Regions from separate parts of the Homo sapiens genome. Here region 2 is linked to region 1. Evidence: promoter capture Hi-C in human tissues and cell types (Jung and others, 2019). All regions are on one chromosome and are shown on one strand. Each heading gives the region's core, a stretch centred on a gene start or on the middle of the fragment in contact. The rest is flanking DNA. Distances are from core to core; before and after follow the strand shown. Region 1 holds the start of ZNF713 (zinc finger protein 713). Region 2 overlaps VOPP1 (VOPP1 WW domain binding protein).

Region 1 (6,717 bases), core at 3,151-5,650:
TTCTCTCCTGATTTCTATTTTCATACTTTGCCTTGCAAGTCACATTATACTTTTGTTCCTGCAAACCATTATATATCATGAACTAGTGTGGGTGAAATAAAAATTACATTTTGCAGGCGTTTATATACTCAGATGTGTTTCTGTTTATTTATGTTTTTGTTTTGAGACAGGATCTCACTTTATCACCCAGGCTGCAGTGCAGTGGCACCATCATGGCACACTGCAGCCTCAAACGCCTGGGCTCAAGAGCTCCTCCTTCCTCAGCCTTCCCAGTAGCTGGGACCACAGGTGCGCACCACCACGTGTGGCTTTTTGTTGTTGTTGTTGTTGTTGTTGTTATTAGCGACCAGGTCTCACCATGTTTCCCAGGCTGGTCTAGACACAATTTCTATGATTTAATTTTTTTTCTATTAAATAAGTGGACATCATTTCTCTTAATCTTTTCTCTCCTGATTTCTATTTTCATACTTTGCCTTGCAAGTCACATTATACTTTTGTTCCTGCAAACCATTATATATCATGAACTAGTGTGGGTGAAATAAAAATTACATTTTGCAGGCGTAAATGGAGACACAATTCTTCTATTAAATAACCATGTGACTTTGGAAAGGTATTTAGACTGAGCTTTAATTTCGTTCATATTTATATTAGAATGTTGAAACTGAATTATTTCTTAGTTCCTGTATATAAACTTCTAATTGTCCACATTTATTTGCTGATGAACTAATCAAATAGTAACTTTTTCATTTAGTGTTCATTCAAAACTTAATAGTTTAAAACCTTAATCTATGCTAGGAATTGTTCCAAGCATGTGTGGGAGTAGGCACACTCCTTAATTTTTTTTTCTTTTTTTTTTTTTTGAGACAGAGTCTCACTCTGTCGTCCAGGCTAGAGTGCCGTGGCACAATCCAGGCTCACTGCAACCTCCACCTCCTGGGTTCAAGCACAATTCTCCTACCTCAGGCACGTGCCACCACGCCCAGCTAATATTTGTATTTTTAGGAGATGGGGTTTCACCATGTTGCCCAGGCTGGTCTCAAACTCCTGACCTCAGATGATCCATCCACCTCGGCCTCCCAAAGTGCTGGGATTACAGGCATAAGCCACCACGTCCAGCCTCTCCTTAATATTTGATTCTCCTGTGTATCTGTGATACCAGGATAATTCTTCTTATATCTTTATTTAGAATTCTCTTAAGGGATACATTTTTTCTTGTAATAATGATTTAATTGAGGCAGTTTTAATCTTACAGCAGATTAGAATTTTCAACTCATTTTGATGTTGTAACTGTTATGGACTAAATTATATTCCACACCCACAAATTAGTATGTTGAAGTCCTAACCCGCAATGTGACTTTATTTGGAAATAGGGCCTTAAAGGTTGTCATTTTTTTTTTTTTTTTTTGGAGACAGAGTCTCGCTCTCTTGCCCAGACTGGAGTGCAATGGCGTGATCTCGGCTCACTGAAACCTCTGCCTCCCGGGTTCAAGCAATTCTCCTGCCTCAGCTTCCCAAGTTGCTGGGATTACAGGCACCCACCACCACACCCGGCTAATTTTTGTATTTTTACTAGAGATGGGGTTTCACCATGTTGGCCAAGTTGGTCTTGAACTCCTGACCTCAGGTGATCCACCTGCCTCGGCCTTCCAAAGTGCTGGGATTACAGGCATGAGCCACTGCGCCGGGCCTGTAATTAAAGTTAAATGAGGTCATAAAGGTGGGGTCTTAATCCAATAGCAGTAGTGTCCTCATAAGAAGAAGAGGCACAGGAATGCATGCACCCAGTGCAAAGGCCAGCAGAAGAGGACACAGAGAGATGCCAGTCCCTTCTGCAAGCCAGGAAGAGAGGTTCACTGGAAACCAACAGGGCAGGCACTTTGATTTTGAACTTCCCACCTCTAGAACTGTGAGATACCACATTTCTGTTGTTTGCACTCAGTCTGCAGTATTGTACAGCAGACTGAGCAGGCTATGACAGTCACCAAAGATGCATACTCTAAGGTAAAATTAAAAGCATGGTCTTCACAGCTGACATTTCCAATCAGTTGAAAATGACACCAACGTGTTACAAGAACTATAACTCATAAGATTTATATAGTCCTCTTTTCTAATGAAATTCACATACAAATCTGCACTCAAATTAAACTGCTTTTTTGGGGGTAAAAAAAAAGTGCATGGGTGTAAGACAAAGCCAGATGCAATATCAAGATCATAAAGGGCTTTGAGGGCATCACTAAGGAACTAGAACATTTTCCTGATGGCGGCAGGGAGCCGCAAGTTTTCAGCAACAGAGTGACTTTCCACCAACATTCATCACCGAATAACTATCTATTTAGAACGTACTAATTGCTACAACCTACTAAGTGTTCCAACCTGCCTTTTAAAAAATTATTTTTTTTTAAACTTTTCTGTATCTTTTAAATGCCTCACAATTTAAGTTAAAAGAAATAGATCAGGCCGGGCGCAGTGGCTCACGCCTGTAATCCCAGCACTTGGGAGGCCGAGGTGGGCGGATCACCTGAGGTCAGGAGTTTGAGATCAGCCTGACCAATATGATGAAACTCCGTCTCTACTAAAAATACAAAAATGAGCCAGGTGTGGTGGCATGTGCCTGTAATCCCAGCTAATCGGGAAGCTGAGACAGGAGAATCATTTGAACCCAGGAGGCAGAGGTTGCGGTGAGCGGAGATCACACCATTGCACTCCAGCCTGGGCAACAGGAGCGAAACTCCATCTCAAAAAAAAAAAAAAATCATTATATGAAAGGACACAATTAAGGGGGATTTGCTTAAAACATTTATTTTATTTTTTGAGACAAGGTCTGATTCTGTCGCCCAGGCTGGAGTGCAGTGACTGGCTCACTGCAACCTTCATCTCCTGGGCCAAAGCCATCTTCCCACCTCAGCCTCCTGAGTGGCTGGGGACTACAGGCACACACCACCAAGTCCGGTTAATTTTTCTAGTTTTTTTTGTAGCAACAGGGTCTTGCCATGTTTCCCAGGCTGGTCTCGAACTCATGAGCTCAAGTGATCCTCCTGCCTCTGCCTCCCAAAGTGCTGCGATTACAGGACCGCAACCGGCCTAAACATTTTAAATGAAAAAAATCTATGTATGTATGTACGTATATGTATTCAGTGCAGAAACTGTCAGGGCAGTGACAGAATCTAGAAACAGCTGGCCGAACGCCGTGGCTCATGCCTGTAATCCCAGCACTTTGAGAGGCCAAGGCGGGAGGATCACTTGCGCTCAGAGACCAGCCTGGGAAACATGGTGAGACCTGGTCGCTAACAACAACAACAACAACAAAAAGCCGCACGTGGTGGTGCACACCTGTGGTCCCAGCTACTGAGGAGGCTGAGGAAGGAGGAGCTCTTGAGCCCAGGCGTTTGAGGCTGCAGTGTGCCATGATGGTGCCACTGCACTGCAGCCTGGGTGATAAAGTGAGATCCTGTCTCAAAACAAAAACATAAATAAACAGAAACACATCTGAGCATACACACGCCTGCAAAATGTAATAAAAGTGTCACTGCAATTCCGTGGAAAAGTGACTCAACGGATAACAGCAAGGCAATGAGAGAAAAAGGTAATCTCTACCTAACCCCTTACCACAAATATCATACTCAATGAAATACAGATAAAAAGGAGAAAAAGAAAATATTTTAAAAATTCTTTAAACGTATTATAAGAAAATAAAGCCGAACGTTTGCATAATCCTGAGATGAGGAAAAACTTTCCCCCAAAATGACACCTATGGACGCTTGCCCAAAAATAAACTGCAAGTTTTTCTTCAGCCTCAGAGTCATTCCCAGATAGTAGAAGACAATGTGTTTATAATATTGGAACGGGTAAGACCTTCCTATAAAAGACCAAAAATCTGAAAGGGACACGGGGCGGGTGACAGGAATGGGGACAGCGGGGACAGCGGCCGCCCCTCCCGCCACCTGCCGCCTCCCGCCGCCGCCGCCGCCCGCCGCCGCCGCCGCCGCCGCCGCCCGCCGCCCGCCGCCGCCGCCGCCCGCCGCCCGCCGCCCGCCGCCCGCCGCCCGCCGCCCCCCGCCTCCGCCCCCCGCCTCCGCCCCCCGCCTCCGCCCCCCGCCTCCGCCCCCCGCCTCCGCCCCCCGCCTCCGCCCCCCGCCTCCGCCTCCCGCCTCCGCCTCCTCCCGGCGCGCACTCACCTCCGCAGACAAAGGGCGCTTCGGCAGGCTCCGCCCCCTGACGCCGCCGCCGCCGCCGCCGCCGCCGCCGCCGCCGCCGCGGTGGACCCGGGAGGGAGAAGGTGCCGAGGGCCCCGCAGCCTGAGCCAATGACGCCCGGTGACTGGGCTCCTGGGGCCGGTCCAGCCACCGGCGCGCCAGACCTGCTCTGAGGACAGCCTCCCCGCAATGGCGGCGCAAGACGCTGGCCTCAGATCCCCAATACGCATGCGCTGGCGGCGCTCCGAGCCTGCTTCCTTCATCGCAATCCTCATCGCCGGGGCTCCTGACTCCCACCAGCTTTCCCGGGTCTGTTTTTCATCGGGACTATGCGGACCCCGGGGACCGCGGCCTCGAGCCTTCCCAGAATTTTCCGGTCCTAGAGGAACGAGGGGGACGGGCCGAGGACCCGTCCCTTCGTCCCTGCCAATTAGAAGCGTTGGACTGTCCATCTCCATGGTGACGACACAAGCCTTCCTTTCAGTCCTGGAATCACCCCTCCTTCCCATCAATTTCATATTGATGAAACTCAAAATATAATGATGATGATGTTATTGGCCGGGCGCGGTGGCTCACGCGTGTAATCCCAGCACTTTGGGAGCTTGAGGCTGGTGGATCACCTGAGGTCAGGAGTTCGAGACCAGCCTGGCCAATATGGTGAAACCCCCGTCTCTAATAAACGTACAAATATTAGCTGGGCGTGGTGACGGGCGCCTGTAATCCCAGCTATTCCGGAGGCTGAGGCAGGAGAATCGCTTAAATTCGGGACGGGGAGGTTGCAGTGAGCAGAGATCACATCATTGCACTCCAGCCTGGGCAGCAGAGTAAGACTCCATCTCAAAAAAAAATACAATAATGATATCATTATATCATTATATAGTATATGCTACTGATGCGAAGAATGGAATTTTATTTTATTTATTTATTTATTTATTTTTTGAGACGGAGTCTTGCTCTGTGGCCCAGGCTGGAGTGCAGTGGTGAGATCTCCGCTTACTGCAAGCTCCGCCTCCCGGGTTCATGCCATTCTCCTGCCTCAGCCTCCCAAGTAGCTGGGACTACAGGCGGCCACCACCACGCCCAGCTAATTTTTTTTTTATTTTTATTTTTAGTAGAGATGGGGTTTCACCGTGTTAGCCAGGATGGTCTTGATCTCCTGACCTCGTGATCCCCCTGCCTCGGCCTCCCAAAGTGCTGGGTTTACAGGCTTCAGCCATCGCGCCTGGCCAAAGAATGGAATTTTTTTAGGCGTAACATTTTGCTTAATTGGAGTTCGGAGTTAGTTAGTTTTTTTTGTTTTATTTTGTTTTGTTTTTCAGACAGGGCCTTGTTCTGTCACCCAGGCTGGAGGGCAATGGTGCCATCATGGCTCAGTGCAGCTTCAAACTCCTGGGCTCAAGCATCCTCCCGCCTCAGCCTCCCCAGTAGCCAGGATTACAGCAGCCCTGAGCCACTGCGCCCTGCTAATTTTTAAAACTTTTTTGTAGAGATGGGGATCTCACTATGTTGTCCAGGCTGGTCTTGAACTCCTGGGCTCAAGGGATTCTTACTCCTCAGGCCCCCCAAGGTGCTGGGATTACAGGCATCAGCACTGTGCTAGGCCCCAGAGTTAGTGTTCTTCAGCATCAAAATTGTGTACATCTGTTTCTACCGGTTATAATGAGATTTTACATATTTCATCTTTGAAAATGTTTTTAAGATAGATACGTACTGCCAAACACTGATACCGTCCATGAACATATGATTTAACTTGAGCATATTCATTGCTTGGAAGAATAGAGTTCTGTTATATTCTCTTGAAATTTGCATTTTAGCATGTCATTATATGGCAGATTAATCACTTCCAATTGAAGGTTAGGTGAGAACTCCTCAACTGCACAGTTACAGGGATATTGAAATATAGAAATGTGCTTTGCATTTGCATAGAGGTCCAAAAATGCTACCAGAACTACCAGAACTATAGATTGAGCTTGGAAAATATAGCCACTGCAAATTTCTGCAAACCAACTAAGATAAGGTTATATAAGGTTGATGTAAAAGCAACTGTAGTTTTTGGCATTAAAAGTAATGGCAAAAACCACAATTACTTTTGTACCAACCTAATACTAAATTAGGGTTTTCTTAACTTCTTTAAAAATATTCTTGCCTGACCAGGTGTGGTGACCCACACCTGTAATCCTAGCACTTTGGGAGGCTAAGGTGGGCAAATTGCTTGAGCTCAGGAGTTCAAGACCAGCCTGGCCAACATGGTGAAACCTCATCTCTACTAAAAATACAAAAATTACCTTGGCATGGTGGTGGGTGCCTGTAATCCCAGCTACTCAGGAGGCTGCTGAGGCACAAGAGTTGCTTGAACCCAGGAGGCAGATGTCGCAGTGAGCCGAGATTGCGCTACTGCACTCTAGCCTGGGCAACAAGAGAAAACTCCATCTTCAAAAAAGTCACACACACACACACACACACACACATGCACACACACACATACCCAAATTGACATGATACTTTTTAATGAAAGACAAAATGA
Region 2 (6,717 bases), core at 1,700-4,199, 330 kb after region 1:
CTCCAGGTCATGGTGAAGGTCGCACAGCGGTTGTGGTGAGGGTCCTGGGAAGCTGTGCATGTGCATCTCAGAGCATCCATGGTCGGGGTGCAGAGTGAGCATTTCGGGCAGTCTTGGATACAGCCAGCTGCCCTGACTGGCCCCCTAAGCAGCATGGAAGCAGGGAGGTAGAAGGGTGGCTGCCAGACTGGGGATTGACGCGGGATGGCAGTGCATCATGAGTGAGAGGATTTTGGGGAATTATTGTTATGATGGCTATGTTAGGGTCATTTCTTGAGTGTGTAAAATTAGAAGATGGTTGATGGATTGGAAAATGAACAAGGCATTTGGTAAAAAAGTAGAGGTTGACATGGGAGTGAGGTGAGGGTATGGGACAGGTGCAGAGAAGGGAGAGTGAGGCTACTGGCCTACTAGAGAAGAACTTGCTGTGACCTCTGTGTTCATTACCTGTTGTTGCTATAACAAGTGACTACAAACTTGGTGGCTTAAACCGATCCAGATTTATTATCTTCCCTCTCTGGAGGTCAGAAGTCCTAAATGGCTCTCAGTGGGCTCAATTCAAGAATGTCAGCAGGACCATGTTTCTTCTGGAGGCTCCAGGGAGGATTCATTTCCTGGCCTGTCCCAGCATCTAGGGACTGCCTGTGTTTCTTGGCTGGTGGTCCCTTCCTCCCCTTCAAAGCCAGCGATTCTGTGTCTTCTAATTTCTCTCATGCTTCTCTCTCTCTGTCACTGTAAAGACCCTTGAGATTACATTGGGCCCACCTGAATTACCCAGCATAATCTCCTCATTGTAAGATCCTTAACTTAATCACGTCTGCAAAGCCCCTTTTGCCACCTAAGGTGACATTCCCAGTTCTGTGGATTAGGACGATGACATCTTTGTGGGCAGGAGGTGGCATTACTTTGCTTGCCACAAGGTTGAAAAAAAATGTTGCTTAAAATGGATATTTTAGTGAAATCACTGTTGTAAAGGTTTTTTTTGTTTTCGTTTGTTGTTTGAGACAGAGCCTCACTCTTTTCCCCAGGCCGGAGTGCAGTGGCATGATCTTGGCTCACTACAACCTCTGCCTCCCAGGTTCAAGTGATTCTCCCGCCTCAGCCTCCCAAGTAGCGGGGACTACAGGCGTGCGCCACCATCCCCAGCTAATTTTTGTATTTTTAGTGGAGATGGGGTTTCACCATGTTGGCCAGGCTGGTCTGGAACTCCTGACCTCAGGTGATCGCCTGCCACGGCCTCGTGCGGTGCTGGGATTACAGGCATGAGACACTGCGCCTGGCCAGTAAAGGTTTTTATACTCCATTGCCACGTTCTGAGGTTCTTCTGTGGGGCTGACATGGGCAGTGGAGTGAATGAGAACTTGCCGGTTCCACTGCATGTGCCCTGGGTTGGGATGGAGTCATTAACATAGGTTGTAGGTCTGTTTTATGCTTTGAGTTCTTGGTGGAATGACTCAGGAAAAATATGTATTGGTTTTATTAATAGCTAGTCACCCCAGTGGAAGCTGAGATTCATCTCTGACTTTCTGAATTGCATGAGAAGTTAAATCGCAGATAGGGAGAAGGCTTTCTCTCATAATGAGAGCCTTGGACAAATTGAGATCACAGGTTACTTGATACAATTGATGCTTTTATCACTTCCTGGCAGAAAAGGAGCTGGACTTCAAAATCACGACATCTGGGCCCTGGTCAGCTGAGCCAGGCATTAGAGTCCTTCCACTGTGGTGGCCTGTTGGTCGGCCCAATGGCACGGTCAGCGGCTGCTCTCAGGGGCTTGCTAATGGGCAGTGCTCACCTTCCTCCATAAGATGGGAAGGGTAGGCATCCTAATTAGGAGTCTCTGGTCCCTTTCTGAGTGTCAGCATGACCTAGTGATGTATTCAGAGAAGCTGCCAAGAGTGGAAGTGGATTTATTTAGTGATGATTGTCACCACTAGAATCAGTACCTTTTTAAACTCCACCCTGTTTATCTGAATTCAGTTGTGTGTATGGTTCTTGTTTTGATGGATGGCTCAGGCTCCCATTGAAGCCATCAGAGGCTCCCTCTGATGATGAGGGAGCAGACTAAAAAACCGTTACTATCCACTGGATACTTAGTGACTTATATATAGCTCAAGTTGTTTGCAAAGCTTTGGGCACAAATAAAATTAATATAATTAGGTCTTCAGAAGGAAATGCAGGATGGTATTAAACTTTTCAGTGAGGCTATCTTGTCGCTAACCTTGAACACTGACCTTTCCTTTGCTTTCTTCTTTGGTTTTTAGCAACTCTGCGTTATTATTGCTGAAGAGGGCTCAGAACACTAAAATAGCTCTTTGTCAGTCAGCTTTACTAATGATAATGATGCCAGGGTTTGGTGTTCACCCTGTAGCCATGCTGTGTTTGAGGCTGTATGTAGTCTGAAGTTTTTACTCTGTCTTTTGGGTCTTTGTCTGCAAGGAGCCTGGGGTTGGACATGGATGGATGGGTGGGTGGATCTGGGAAGTGAAGAGACTTTACAGCACCTGACACAGCACAGTAGCCTCTGGACAGGGATGCCTGGGCTCTCTGGAGGCTGAGCAGAGATGATTGGAATTGGCATTAGCAGGGTGTCTCTGGGGTGGCAGGGTCCTCTCCCCGATTAAAGCATCATCTGTCACCCCTGCAGGTGTGCACACCTGAACAGGTTAGCAGGTGAGAAACACATTATTTGTATGAGTTTTCATTTAGTTGTCTGATGGAAGTTTAAGGAACATATTAAAAATATGAAGGATATTCTTTTTCTTAAAATTCATTCTTTTGTATTTAATTTTTTTTGACATACAACAAGCTGAACATAATTAATGTATACAGCTTGATGAGTTTGGAGATAAGCATGCACCTATGAAACCACCTCCACAATTTATGCCATAAGCCTCTAAAAGTTTCCTCCTGCTGTCTGGTTATTATTATTATTATTATTGTGTGTCATAAGGTCTACCCCTTAGCAGATTTCTAAGTACACAGTAGAGTAGTGTTAACTGCAGGACCTCTGTGGCACAGCAGCCCTCTAGGACTCACTGATTTGCATAACTGAAACTTTGTACTTTTTGACAAATACCTAATTTCCCCTCCTCCCAACCCCACGCAACGCCATTCCACCCTCTGTTGAAGGGTTTTCTTGTCTGTCTGTACTTGCAATGCCCCACAGAGTACTTACTAAACCGCATATTGATTAGAACGTCTTTGGCCCTCAGTGATAGGAAACCCAATTCAAGTAGTGCAGACTTGGAGGAAGTTCATTATCTGGCATGGTTAGGAGTCCTCCTGTTGGAGGCCCCGGGCCTGAGTTGTTCAGAGGCTCTACACACCCTCTCATTTGCTCCACCTTCCATTCTGCCATTCTCTGCGGACGGTCCTGCCCTTGTGGTTGTGTGTAGGTTGCAGCAGCTCCTTACAAAATGCAAATCAGTCAGCATCCAGCATGTCTTTCTTATGTATGTGTTTTGTTCTGTTGTGGCTGGGCAGAGTTACTTGGCCCCTTCCTTTTCCCATCCCCACAATATTCCAGTATTTTCTAATGGGGCACTCATTTTGGGTGGGGTTGGTGTTAGATGGGTCCTGAAGAATCGGAATTTTCAGATTGGAAGTCAAGCCAACGATTGAAATATAAACAGACATAAGAGCCTTCTTGCTAGCATATGGGGTTTTTTTAAGTCCTTTTTTTTTTTTTGAAACATCTTATGTTTGAGTATTTTTTTAAAACTTTCCAACCTTATTTTATTTCTCCAGATGATGGTGGCAATGTGATAACCAGCACTTAGCAGGTGCTTGTTGTGTGGCAGCATTGTTTTAAGTAAGCACATGGTGTTTCATCTGTGCAGCCTTCCCACCCCTGCCCCAGGCTCCGTGCTGCCCTCCTGTCCATTTTGCAGATGAGTGGACTGTGGCTCAGGAGACTGGGGCTTTCTCAAGATTTTCTGCAGTCGGACCTAGCATTCAAACCTCAGCAGATTGACTTGCCAACCTAAAATAATGAAAGGGGTCAGAATATGATTTAAAGAGCATTTAAATAAGTACAAAGTGTGAGGTAGGCCACCCAGAAACACCAACTCCGAAGAAATGGAGTCAGTTTTCCGAAGTAGGAAGTGAAGGCTTCATTTATGTGGGCTGAGACAGTGGAGTTTTTAGCAGGATTACAACATTATTCATACAAGGTTGGTGTGTATGTTATAGCAATTTGATTGGCTCTAGGTGATGTTTCTTTTTGGGGAGGGGATATTTAACATTTTCTTAACAGAGGGTGTAATAGTCCTGGGTTTTCTTTCACCTGGTCTAAGCGAAGCAGGGCAATGAAGGGGGAGTTAATCTACAACAAGGGTCATTAATTCAGAGGGCGGGAGGCTTTTGACCCTGACATGGTTTCCCTTTAGTCAATGTACAGAGCAAGAAAAAGAAGAAAATGAGTTATCTATAATCTGAGAAACATAAATTGTAACCATATGTGACTCAGATCACAGTCACATTTCTCTCAAAGCTTGAAGTGTTTTGGGGGGGGGTTCCAACAGCTTTTAGGTTTATTTGTTTTCACAGACTTCAGAGTATGTTCTTAAAGCCCCAATGTGTGAAGTTTATATAATCATAGCATTTTTCTCTTTGAGGTTCCATCATGGCCTGTCGTGGAGGGAGTTCCTGTTGCTGGTTCACGTTATGCATTTTGGTTATTAAGAGACTGAGAAACTCCATCATGTTATCCTAAGTAATGTGTCTTTATTATAAATAGAATGTGGAAATTTGGAAGATGAGAATTTTGGCTCATGGAATCCAGAAGTGGATGAACAGGTTTGCGAACTGGAGGATGGCTTAGAAAGGAACTGGCAAGGCTCACTGTGGCCTTGAGACCTGGTGGAATGAGTCAGGGTCATTGTCCTGCTGGGCTGAACCCCTGTCTCTCCCACCTCCTCCTGCCTTGCTAGGTAGCCTGCACTCACCCAGTCCTTTGTGGCAGGCTGGGCTCAGAAGGTCTCAGAGGAAGCTCAGCAGGTGGCTGGGAGAGAGCAGAGGCTGCCCTTAGGGACACTAGGTGAGTGCAGCAGCTTTCTGTTTCATACATTGAGTGCTTGGGGCCCCTCATAGGTAAGCAGCAGAGGGGCTTCCAGCACATACCCATGTTCTCATTATCATATACAGGTTATTAGAGAGGCGAAATCTACGGGGAAACATCTTAGAACACATGGAAAAGAAAACAAGTGAGTTTTGCTGATGGCTATTGGGGTTATTCATTCGTTTATATTTATTTGCTTTGTGCTGTGTTCATCAGCAGAGCTCACTGAAGGGAGTCCAGCATAAGCAGTCTCTATGATACTGCAGTCCCCGAAAGGTTTTTGTAAGCAGGAACTATGTGAGCAAAATTTAGTTTATTGTTTCAAAATTCTCATAAAGAATTATGTTCCCAGCAGAGCCTCCTGCTGTGTCAGTGGTAATTGATGACTACTACCGTTTTCAATAATAATGAGGTATGCACTAGCGAAATGAAGAGGAGCCCATGCCTGAGGAGCTCTTGATACTTAGGAAAAGGAGAAGGGCTGCTTAGAACAATACCCTGGACCCAAATGGCATGACCACTAAGAGCTGGATCTTATCTGGCACCTAAAAGGTGCTGGGCAGTGTCCTAGTGGTTACCCCCACTGTGTCCCTCATGGTAGCCCTGGAAGCTACATGTTGCCGCTCATTTTACAGATTCACAAAGTGAGGTTGAGAAGTTAAGGGATTTAGCAAAGGTCATCTGTGCGGTGAAAAGAGGCAGTAGTTGTTCTTTCCAGCTTTCACATGTGCGGAAATGGTAGTGCTGAAAGTGAGCGATTGTCATGCAGTCTGCTTCCCTGGGGCCAGCGATTGAGCTGGGGGGTGGTCGGGAGGGCAAGCTGTCCATGCAGAGCACCCTCCCTCTCCTGTCGCTTCCCCCTTCAGGCTTTGGTCCCTGTCCTATGCTTTGCTTCCATCTCTCCTTTTCCCTCCACTACTTCTCCAAGTTCTACAGGCAGATTGGAAATTTATTTTAAGACTGGTTCCTTTTTAAAAAGTATATTTCTCTATGTAACTTAAGTTTCTGATGGATTTTTCTTGTGGCCTAGAGGCATGATTCATTGTAGTGGTTTAATTTGTAAACAGCACCTTTCACCTGATTTTCTCCTTCGGGAGATGCGGCAAAAAGCAGCCACCTTGGAAGCTTTCCTTCTCCATTCCCAGACCCTCATCTCAGCCTCAGATGCTGATGTCTCCTGCGCTTGGGTGAGGTCTTCCTCCTCTCCTCATTCTGCGAAAAATCCTGGGGAATCTCATCTACATCTAAATCTTCAATGACAGTTGTTTATGTGAATGTCTCCAAAATCTATATTTCTGGTCCAAGAATTCCCTGCTGAGCTCCAGCCCCTATCGACCCAGTTGTCTAACAGAGACCTCCTCCAGGGTGGCCCAGAGGCCTCAGACAGTGTATCTGAAGCAGAGCTCACCCTTTCCCCAAAGCTCCGCCCATTGGTTCTGTGTCAGTCCATGGCACTGCCTCCCATCCAGGACAGTGCTCCAGAAACCTCACCATCCCTACATCCTCGGCAACCCAAGTTCTGCAATTTTTTACTCAAAGTTTCTAGAATGTGCCTCTCCCAGGCCCCGTTTTCTCTATTCCTGACTCAGTCCAGGCCATTTTCCTCGTGTACAGTCCTTGGGATGTTTCTTCTCCATTCTGCCCATGTGAGCTTT

What was found. The method cuts DNA at HindIII sites, captures the fragments that hold promoters and counts their contacts. A contact is called where the count stands out against the background at its distance.
Region 2: a contact is called between a fragment that was not itself captured here and the fragment with the promoter of ZNF713 in region 1, in 1 of the 25 tissues and cell types used here (pancreas).

The regions. Positions count from the first base shown.
Region 1 is chr7:55,885,139-55,891,855 of GRCh38, reverse strand. It overlaps ZNF713 (zinc finger protein 713), which reads right to left and starts at 4,400. Exons shown (of 7, transcript NM_182633.3): 1 at 4,176-4,400. RefSeq lists a silencer at 4,200-4,249 and an enhancer at 4,370-4,709. The HindIII fragment of the contact is 16,372 bases long and covers 1-6,717 here.
Region 2 is chr7:55,554,437-55,561,153 of GRCh38, reverse strand. The region is part of intron 1 of VOPP1 (VOPP1 WW domain binding protein); the gene reads left to right. Among named protein-coding and RNA genes, the nearest start is that of VOPP1, 15 kb to the left of the region's middle. RefSeq lists an enhancer at 5,377-6,323. The HindIII fragment of the contact is 4,785 bases long and covers 557-5,341 here.